3 separate regions of the Homo sapiens genome follow, and regions 1 and 2 are each linked to region 3. Evidence: promoter capture Hi-C in human tissues and cell types (Jung and others, 2019). All regions are on one chromosome and are shown on one strand. Each heading gives the region's core, a stretch centred on a gene start or on the middle of the fragment in contact. The rest is flanking DNA. Distances are from core to core; before and after follow the strand shown.

Region 1 (3,630 bases), core at 340-2,839, 590 kb after region 3:
GGTAGTCCATTTCACATTGCTATGAAGGAATACCTGAAACTAGGTAATTTATCAAGAAAAGAGGTTTATTTGGCTCACAGTTGCATAGCTGTAAAAGAAGCATTGTGCCAGCATCTGTTTCTGGTCAGGACCTCAGGAAGCTTTCACTTATGGTGGTAGGGGGAACAGGCATGTCACATGTCAAAGGAGGGAGCAAGAGAGATGCCAGACTCTTTTAAACAACCAGCATTTGCATGAACTGATAGAGCGAGAACTCACTCATTAATGTGGGGAGGGAACCAAGCCATTCATGAGGGATCCAAGACCCTAACACCTTCAATCAGGCCCCACCTCCAACATTGGGGATCACATTTCAACATACTTGGAGGGGACAAAACATCCAAACCCTATCACCTTCTGTTCACAGTTTTCTGAGTATTTTAATCTGAATTTTAAATGCCATTAAAATTTTATTTAGATTACATTGAAACTTAATTACACATGGCTAGTGGTATTGGTTTATGCATTTTTAGATCCCTTCAAGTTATCTTCCTGTTCTACCTTTTTCTTGGGTTTTGTAATTAGTCTCCTTCTTGAAAGATTATTTTGGTACTGGTTGTTAGTAATTCCTGGATTTCCTTTAAAGATATAAGAAATACTGGGGAGGGGACAAGATGGACAACTAGAAATAGCTGCAATCAGAGGCTTCCAACAAGAAGAACGAAAACGGTGAGTGAATCCTGCACCGGCAACTGAGGTATTCACCTTCTCTCAATGGGACTGACTAGGTGGTTGGCATGACCCATGGAGAGTGAGGAAAAGCAGGGTGGAGCGACAGCCCACCTGGGAGCTGCAAAGGGCAAGGGGAGCTCCCACCCCAAGCCAAGGGAGGTGGTGAGTGATTGTTCTACCCTGTCCAGGAAATCATGCTTTTTCCAAGGATCTGTGCAACCTGTGATTCAGGAGATCCCCCTCATGAGCACATGCCACCAGGGCCTTGGGTCCCAAGCACAGAGCTGTGTAGGTTCTTGGTAGCCCTTTGGCTGGAGACTACATAAGACTACTGAGTTCCTTGGGGGAGGGGTTGCTGTCATCACTGCAGCTCCAGTCTGCTGTTTTCCCCTGCTGGTGCTGGAGAGACTGGGCGGTTGGGACCCAGAAGGAATTCCCTACAGTGCAGACCCTACAGTGGTGGTGGCACATCATGGCCAGACTGACTCTTTAGGCTGAACTCTGACTCATCCCCCTACACGGGGCAGGGCCTCTCTGCGGGAATTTCAGCAACTCCAGCCAGGGGTTTACAGACAGAATTCCAATCTCCCTGGGATGGAGCCCCTGGTGGGAGGGGTGGCCACAGTCTCCACAGATCAGCAGAGTTAGTCTTTCCCCTTGCTGGCTCTGAGGAATCCAGGCAGTCTGGATGAGTGAGATTTCCCCCAGTGCAGCACACCCCCTCCACCAAGGGGCAGCCAGAGTGCTTCGTTAGGTGGGCCTGTGCCTCTTGACTGGATGAGACCCCTCCAACAGGGGTCGCCAGACACCTTATGCAAGAGCATTCCCACTGGCATCAGGTTGGTGCCCCTCTGGGACGGAGCTCCCAGAGGAAGGAACAGGCAGCCATCTTTGCTGTTCTGCAGTCTCCACTGGTGACACCTCCAGGTACAGGAGGGACCCAGGCAAAGAGTCTGGAGTGGACCCCCAGCAAACTGCAGCAGCCCTATGGAAGAGGGGCCTGACTGTTAAAAGCAAAACAAATGGAAAGCAACAACAACATCAACAAAAAGGTCCCCACCAAAACCCCTCCAAAGGTTAGCAGCCTCAAAGTTCAAAGCTAGGTAAAGTCATGAAGATGAGAAAGAATCAATGAAAAAACGCTGAAAACTCAAAAAGCCAGAGTGCTTCTTTTCCTCCAAATGATCACAGCACCTCTCTGGCAAGGGCATAGATGTGGGCTGAGGCTGAGATGGATGAATTGACAGAAGTAGACTTCCGAAGGTGGATAATAATGAATTTCACTGAGCTAAAGGAGCATGTTCTAACCCAATGCAAAGAATCTAAGAACCATGATAAAACATTACAGGAGCTGTTAACCAGAATAACCAGTTTAGAAAGGAACATAAATGATGGAGCTGAAAAACACAACATGAGAACTTCATAATGCAACCACAAGTATCAATAGCCAAATAGACCAAGTGGAGGAAAGAATTTCAGAGCTTGAAGACTATCTTGCTGACAAGATAAGAGAAGAATGAAAGGAAATGAACAAAACTTTTGAGAACTATGGGATTATTTAAAAAGACTGAACCTGCGAATGATAGGGGTACCTAAAAGAATTGGGGAGAATGGAAACAAGTTGGAAAACACACTTCAGGATATCAGCCAGGAGAACTTCCCCAACCTAGCAAGACAGGCCAGCATTCAAATCAGGAAATCCCTAGAGAACCCCAGTAAGCTACCCCATGAGAAGATCAACCCCAAGATACATAATCATCAGATTCTCCAAGGTTGAAATGAAGGAAAAAATACTAAGGGCAGCCAGAGAGAAAGGCTAGGTCACCTACAAAGGGAAGCCCATCAGGCTAAGAGTGGACCTCAGCAAAAACCCTACAAGCCAGAAGAGATTCGGGGCCAATATTCAACATTCTTAAAGAATTTCCAACCCAAAGTTTCATATCTGGCCAAACTAAGCTTCATAGTCAAAGAAGAAATAAAATCCTTTTTAGACAAGCAAATGCTGAGGGAATTCGTCACCACCAGGCCTGTCTTGCAAGAGCTCCTGAAGGAAGCACTAAATATGGAAAGGAAAAACTTACTGGCCACTACAGAAACACACTGTTTTCTTTTACCAGTAACACTATGAAGCAGTTACCTCAACAAGTCTGCAAAATAACCAGCTAGCATCATGATGATAGGATCAAATTCACACATAAAAAATATTAACCTTAAATGTAAGTGGGCTAAATGCCCCAATTAAAAAACACAGAACGGCAAGCTGGATAAAGAATCACGACCCATCAGTATGCTGTTGTATTCAAGAGACCCATCTAACATGCAAAGACATACAAAGGCTCAGAATAAAGGGATGGAGGAAAATTTACCAAGCAAATGGAAAGCAGAAAAAAGCAGGGGTTGCAATCCTATTTTCTGACAAAACAGACTTTGAACCAGCAAATATCAAAAAAGACAAGGGCATTACATAGTGGTAAAGGGCTCAATTCAACAAGAAAAGCTAACTATCCTAAATATATATGCACCTAATACAGGAGCACCCAGATTTATAAACCAAGTTCTTAGAGACCTACACAGAGACTTAGACTCCCATACAATAATAGTGTGAGACTTTAATACCCCACTGTCAATATTAGACAGATCATCAAGCAGAAAATTAACAAGGATATTCAGGACTTGAACTCAGCTCTGGACCTGATAGATAGCTACAGAACTCTCTATACAGAAACAACAGAATATACATTCTTCTTAGCAGCACATCGCACTTAGGCTAAAATTGATCACATAATTGGAAGTAAAACACTCCTCAGTAACTGCAAAAGAACTGAAAATATAACACACAGCCTCTCACACCACAGCACAATCAAATTAGAACTAAGATTAAGAAACTCACTCAAAACCACACAATTACGTGGAAATTGG
Region 2 (3,243 bases), core at 542-3,041, 560 kb after region 3:
TTTTTAAGTGGAAAAATCTGAGAAAGAGTGCCTTAGGCTCACTGAAAGTCCTATCAGAGATGGCTATTATTTTATATATTTGTTAATAATTTTTCTTTTTTTCCAGATTCACGTATTTTAATAAATATGTCAGAGGCATTGTTTAAGTTAAATATAACTTTTTCTTTTTTACCAATTTGTTGATTCAGTTGCCATTCTGCAAAGATGCTTACAAATTCTAATACGATAAATAAGTGGATATAATTGGAATACTAACTGAAAGTAAAAAGACAGTTGACTGAAGACACTTATTTTACTGAATTTCAAAATCAAGTTATGAATTTCTGTGACTGCTATATGAAGGGTACTGTGAAGTTTGTAGCATTGTGGAAACAATGGCCATAGAGATTTCAAAGTCCTCTGGCTGTACTGCTTGTTACCTTGTGGAAGAAAATTCAAAATCTGTGAATTTATTATTTGACTATTTAGACTGTTTTAGTAATTTAACTTCTTCATAGCGAGAAAAAAGTCACAGATAAGTGACTCTTCATTAGCGTACATTTGTTTCATTAGTGCAAATTTCTTCTAAATTGAGAACATTAAGACTTAAATTTGTAATTGGATTATGGATGCCATTATAATCACAGCTGCTGCTTTTTATTTTCACATTTTATTTTGATTGTATGCTATTGAGGAAATCCTATTTCTACAGACAACTTCTATTCCTGAGTATAATTTTACTTAAGTAGCTATGTGCAAACCAGAGTTTTAAGAATGTTCAGTGTGAAGCTGCAGCCTTCCTAATCAGTGACATGTTTACAAGAAGTTGAGATATGCGGAAAAAGCTGGCAGCAGAAACTTTATTCCTAGGTCTGCATAAAATCAAAGTGGCCTGGCAGCTTTAAGGGATGTGTTTGCGTTTGATTTTTAACACATTTAAGTGTGTATGCTGTTTTTCATTACACATTATTATATGTGACAGAGACAGTGTCACAGCTTTGCAAGTATAAAGGATATTTTGAAAGTGAAATGCAAGCCAAACATTTATGGAACCCCAGAGCACCTTTGGGAGCCACTAGGATCCTATTGATGTGGCTATGCTAATTTAAGAACATCTGGTTTAGGAGATTATCAGTGCTACACTGATTGTTTTGCTTTTCTTCATAAATATGTTAAGCCAATGTTTAGGGATCATGGTATTAGAAAAATAGGATTTTAATTTCTATACATTGTTTTATAAGTGGCTTGCTTACTAGCAGTCTTTTTTTTATATAAAGATGTTTAAGTTCTAACAGTTGGTGGTCACCTAGATATCAGTGATTTGTTATTTAAACAAAATAAGGCACATGGCTGAATGTCTCATAGTTCTCTATTCCATTGGCAAATGTTTGAAGCCAAAAGACTTGACTCAATGTAGAAAAATTCCTGCATTTTAGCCTATTTTGAAAACATTTGTTAGGTGCTTATAATGTCAAAGTAGTTTTACCCAATAAAGAACCAAAACTTCCGGTAAGTTTAATTGAGGGTTTTCAGAGAAATTCATCTCGTTTACCCTCCTCTTCTTTTTTAAAAAATTACTGTTTTGGGTCACCATCCAATTTTTATAGCGGCCAAACCTCCCACAGGCAGCAGCAACAGGCGCTTAAAACTTGTGAACATTTTAGGTGTTGGTAACAAATACAATTTTCAGGTGCCAGAGGGCACATGTGATCTTTTACACAAAAATGCCTCTGACCCACAATCGGTAGTTCATCTTGAATTGTCTCTTCTGTTAGTGATCATGAATAATAGATAAACATTTATTAGGTGAGTGACTGAAGCTAGGGGATGTCCTCTGTGACTGTGAGAGTTTCTCTCTGAACAAAGTTAGTTGGACCATTCCTGATTGAACTTCTGACCTTGATCTCGTTAACACCTGCTCTAAGGAAAGATTAAAGGGAGGCAGCCTGCCAGCTGCATCCTTTGCTGTCTGGGCAGACACTACAGAGATGGCCCATATATGGGCCTAGAGATCTGTACATTTTAGAATTTAAAAATGATCAAGGAAATTGTTTTGTAAATTTTATTTGGGAGCCTTAGATTTAACCTTACCATTGTAGACCAAGAGATTGTTTTGGTGTGCTTTTGTTAAATATGCTAAATATTGTCTCTGGATACTGAGTTAAAGTATTTTTTTTTGGATGTGTGCTAATTTAATAAAAATACGACTTAATATTTGCCAGGCTTTGGACCATGATGGGATAATCATTAGAGATATTTGCTGCTTATTTGTATTATGAATGTCTTTTCTAAAAATTTGATTCCTGGGTTACTTTGAGGTGACTGAAGTCATGTAACAGCAGAAGGAGTTAAGGAAATAGACTAAAATATGACTTGATTTAGAAGGGAATTTCCATTTAAGAAATGAGAAATGGCTGGGCGCAGTGGCTCATGCCTGTAATCCTAGCACTTTGGGAGGCCAAGGTGGGTGGATTGCTTGAACCCAGAAGTTTGAGACCAGCCTGGGCAACATGGCAAAAACCAGTCTCTATTATTATATTAAAAAAAAAAAAAAGAAATGAGAAATGAATAGATTCCTAAAATATTTTCCAGATCTATTTTAATGCTGATAAGCTTTTGTTTTACAGTATTTTCCTTATGATTAATATTCATAAGTATGATTAATGGAGTGAGGGATATTTTGTAAAAACCCATCAAAAATTTAAGTACTTTGATTTAGCATGGGTAGTTTTAATCTCAAAATTGTTATTTTCGGTGTGCTTATGTTAAACACATTAAATATTGTAAATATTGCCCTTTTTAGGAAATTAAAATTTGGTAGGGTATTTACTAGTTGGCTTTTCTCTATTTTTTTTCAGGTTACTTTATTTTTCTTCTTGCAGTCATGGTTTTTAATCATTTGAATAGTTGAGCTTTATGTCTCATATTCTGTTAATGGAAGTAGCTGCTTCAGATAGTTTGCTTAGGTATATTGTATTTTGTAATTGTCTATTCAACTGTGTGGGCTGTGGTCACCACTTATTTTGATGATCCACAGTGGGTCAGCCTTTTGTACTAGGCACCTTCAGATACATTGTCTGCTCAGTCTTGCTGTCAGTACTGTGAAAATAAGCAATGATGTCCTCATGTTTTTCATATGAGGAAAATGGGACTCAGAGAAGATACCAAATGTATTTGCCAATTATTATTTACATAACAGCCATTCATTGAACTCCTGCTGAATGCCAGGCTCCATTCCAAGTGCCAGCGTTATTGGAATGAAGA
Region 3 (3,537 bases), core at 1,038-3,537:
ATTCAGCCCTAACAGAACCCATGACCACTTCAGAGGCAAGATCCCCCAATCCACCAAGCCCCCCTGTCCCTTGACACCTGCCCCCCGCCACCTTTTCAGCCCTGTTCATCTGGCTGAGCTACTCCTCAGTCACCCCTTGGTTTGTCCTTGCCTTCTTCTTTGGGCCACTGGATCACCCACCCGCCTCTCCAGACCCCACCAAGTTCAGGTTCCATCATGGGAGAAGGAAGGCAAACTGGGAGACAGACTCTGGGAGGAGCTCAGAGAAAAGGGACTTGAGAAGTCATTCATTCCAAGCAGGGAAACTGAGGCCCAAAGGGGCCTGCCAAGATGGCGCAACTGGTTAAAGGTCCGGAGGGGACCAGATCCCTATTTCTTGACCACCTCTGTTGAGATATCTTCTCCTTTGATATTGTTGAGAATATCAAATCCTCCCGGTTTTAACATTCCTTCAGTTGGCAGAAAGTGCCAGGGTCTACAAACCTTTGGGTGAGGATGGGAGCAGGGCTCAGGACCCATGTGATGCTTCTGTACACTTAATGTGCTGCTCTGTCCTGGCAACCACTGACCACTCTAACAAGCCATTCCCCAGCCCAGATGCGCTCATTAGCATTAATGACGTTCCCTCCCTGGGGGGGTAGGGGAAGGCCCAAGAGCTTGGGACTCATACTGGCTCCTACCCTCTCCCTGAGGAGGGGGCATCCAGGGCCCCTGAAGTTACCCTTACTGGACAGCCTTGTCCTGGAAGATCTGTGCACTCTGCCCACTGGGTGAGCAGGGACCCAGAAGACCACAGAACCACATCCTTTAGGGAGTGCCCCTACGAGAGGGGTCTTGGTGGGAGGGGGGCTACAGGAGTCTAGAAGGGAGAGGACATAATTCCCCCAAATCTCCAACTTTTGAGGAAAGCCTCCCCTCCTTGCCCCAGGTGGCCCCAGCACTGGGGTGGAACATGTGTACAGAGAACCAGGCCACAAGAGACTGGATACGCAGAGCCGCTATGGGCACCAGCCCCTCTGAGCTGTGTCCAGCCCCTACCCCTATGCCCTGTTCTTCCGGACAACAAGTCCAGGCCTGACCTGGTTCTGCCCCTACCTGGAAAGAGGGAAGACACAGAAGAAGACAGCCCCTGAGAAGTCCGCCCCAAGGCCTCCTTCCCCCTCGCACTGAAAGAATCTCTCAGCCCTGGATCAGGGCCCCTCACCAGGAAAGTTGACAGAGCGGGGTCTCAATGACACTGCCCCAGGGCCCAGCTGGGCTGGAAAACAGATCCAGACCAGCGCTCCCAGCCCTCCCTCCCCTAGCAGGAATAAAGGGCATGACAGACAATGGTGGGGACCGGGGTAGGAAGCGGGAGACCAGCCACCCTCAAACCTTGTCAAGTCTAAACAAGGGCCCTGAGCAAGTGTGGGGAAGAAAAGGCCCCAAATCCAGACCCCTCCGAGCCAAGCTCACAGCGCTCAGGGCTGGAACTCTGAATCAGCACCCCGACGCAGGCGGCAGAACTGAAGGGAACGTGAGCCCCTCCCTGCCTCTCAGGGGACACACGGCCGGGGCGCGCGGCTTTGGTCCCAGACACCCTCCACAACCCAGCGCAGCCGCGGCACCGCGCGCAGAAACCGGCCTGGGCGCTGGGAGGCCGGGCCCGAGGCCTGCGTGGAGCTGAGGCCGGGCGGGCTCCGGGAGCGCGCGGGCCGGGAGTCCAAAGGGCGGCGGGGCCCGGGACTGGGCGCCCCGGATATGAGCTCCAGGGTGGCAGGCAGGCCCTCCACACTGTGCGGCCCCCGGATCCCCGCCCCGACCCCCCAAGCACGGACGGCGGGACAGGCGACGGCACAGGGGACACGGTCTCCCCGGCTTCCCCACCTTCCCGGACCAACTCGTCCCCGTCGCGGGGGGGTGGGGAGGGCGGGGGGCGGGGCTTCCCGGAGAGATTTTCCCCCTTCCCTCTAAACTTCCCGGCACCCCGATCCGGGGCTCCAGCTCCGGCTGGACAATAGCTCGGGGACCCAGTCCCCCTCGAGTGTCGCCCCCCCAGCCAGCCCAGCCGACCAACCAAACCACCTCTCCCGAGCGGGGCCTCCTCCCGGCGTCCGCCCGGCTTACCTGGTCCGAGCTCGCGGGGGCGCTCCGGCCGGGCCGCTCCGCCGGGCCCGAGGGAGCCGCAAGGGGGGCCGGGGAAGGGGGGTCGTGGGGAGGGGGCTGGCCGGAATGTGCGGAATGAGCCGGGCTGGAGCGGGAGGCGCCGAGCGCGGAGGAGGGAGCGAGCGGGACGGAAAGTTTGTGTTGAGGAGCCGGGGCGGGGGTGGGGGCTGCGGGAAGGAGGGGGCGGGGCGCGCAGGGGGCGGTGCTGGCCGGGAGGGGCGGGGCCGTCCAGCCGCGCTCGGGCCGCCTACCCCGCGGCCTCGCGACCCGGCCACCCCGGCTGGCGCGCGCCTGGGCGCCCCGCTCCTCGCCCGCCCGTGCGGAGCTGCCTTCCTCCCCCTGCGCTCCGGGCCTCGCCCCGCTCCCGGGCACCCGCCGGAATTTGGGGCTCCGGCCTGGGGCGGGGCCGAGGGCGGAGCCCTCGCCTCGCGGGCAGGGCTCCCGTCGGTGCCGGGGGCCGTGGGTGCCGCGTCACGAGGAGCCCGGCAGAGCCGGAGCGCACGGGCCCCGGGGCTCCCGGCCCCTCCACCCTAGTCCCGAGCCGCCAAGGCGGAGCGTACCCTCCAGCTCGCGGGCCTGCCCCCCACTCCCGGGGCCCCAGACCCGGCTCCGCCCTGGCGGCTGCGCCCGCCCTGCCGGGACCCGGTTTGTCTGGTTCTCCCCGCGTGGCTAGTTTCTCGAATTTCTTCTCCCTTTCTCCCTCTTCCCCGACCTCCGGGACCCTCCCTTTCGCCCCGGCTCCCCGGGCCCCCACGGGGGGCGTCTCGACGCTGTGCGGCCGCCGAGTTTCGGTAGGACCCGCGACGGGCGCGGGGAGGGGACGCGGGAGCGCCCGGGGCCTGGGCAGGAGTGGGACGGGGGTTGAGACTTCCAGCTCGCGCCTCGGACGCCTCCTGCCGCCTCGTTCTCCGCACGCGCTGAGGAACCACCGCTCCGCTTGGCCAAGGACGCGGCTTTATTGGGGATGTGGGTGCCTGGCCCTCGTCCCCCATCACCTACCCCCTCCTCCTAGCCCGCCCCAGCTCCTCGGAGCCCTAGCGCGGTCCCGGGGAGAGGGGAGGTTAAAACAACAATGACTACTGCTCCCGGACAGGAAGTGACTGGGGCGCGGGGAGGAGGGGGGCACAGCGGCGCAGGCGAGCTCCGAGACCAGATGTGCGGCTCCAACTCCAGATGTTCTTCATCTCCGTCCTACCCGCCGTCCGGGCTCCTCCTGCCTCGGCCTGTGCCAGGCTGGGGAGAGGACGGAGGTCACCGAGAGGCAGTGAGAGGTCAGCCCCGACACAGGAGCAGTTTTCCGCGGGAGCTTTGCTGGAGGGACCCTGCCAGCCTCCACTGAATCCTTTCCCCCACGCTGACGGGCTCTGGGGGCGCTGAGGGGCTGCTGGGGTC

Evidence for each region. The method cuts DNA at HindIII sites, captures the fragments that hold promoters and counts their contacts. A contact is called where the count stands out against the background at its distance.
Region 1: a fragment that was not itself captured here is called in contact with the fragment with the promoter of TEAD3 in region 3 in 2 of the 25 tissues and cell types used here (adrenal gland and dorsolateral prefrontal cortex).
Region 2: a fragment that was not itself captured here is called in contact with the fragment with the promoter of TEAD3 in region 3 in 1 of the 25 tissues and cell types used here (liver).

The regions. Positions count from the first base shown.
Region 1 is chr6:36,082,406-36,086,035 of GRCh38, forward strand. The region is part of intron 8 of MAPK14 (mitogen-activated protein kinase 14); the gene reads left to right. Among named protein-coding and RNA genes, the nearest start is that of MAPK13, 46 kb to the right of the region's middle. The HindIII fragment of the contact is 4,015 bases long and covers 1-3,597 here.
Region 2 is chr6:36,053,259-36,056,501 of GRCh38, forward strand. All of the region lies in intron 2 of MAPK14 (mitogen-activated protein kinase 14), which reads left to right. Among named protein-coding and RNA genes, the nearest start is that of MAPK14, 27 kb to the left of the region's middle. The HindIII fragment of the contact is 5,870 bases long and covers 1-3,243 here.
Region 3 is chr6:35,494,792-35,498,328 of GRCh38, forward strand. TEAD3 (TEA domain transcription factor 3) reads right to left here and starts at 2,288. Exons shown (of 13, transcript NM_003214.4): 1 at 2,107-2,288. It overlaps TULP1 (TUB like protein 1), which reads right to left. Exons shown (of 15, transcript NM_003322.6): 15 at 3,083-3,537. The coding sequence ends at 3,536. LOC124901309 (a long non-coding RNA gene) reads left to right here and starts at 3,342. Exons shown (of 2, transcript XR_007059561.1): 1 at 3,342-3,416. RefSeq lists enhancers at 532-1,317, 2,264-3,194, 3,195-3,537 and silencers at 2,096-2,145, 2,326-2,455, 2,466-2,795. The HindIII fragment of the contact is 31,199 bases long and covers 1-3,537 here.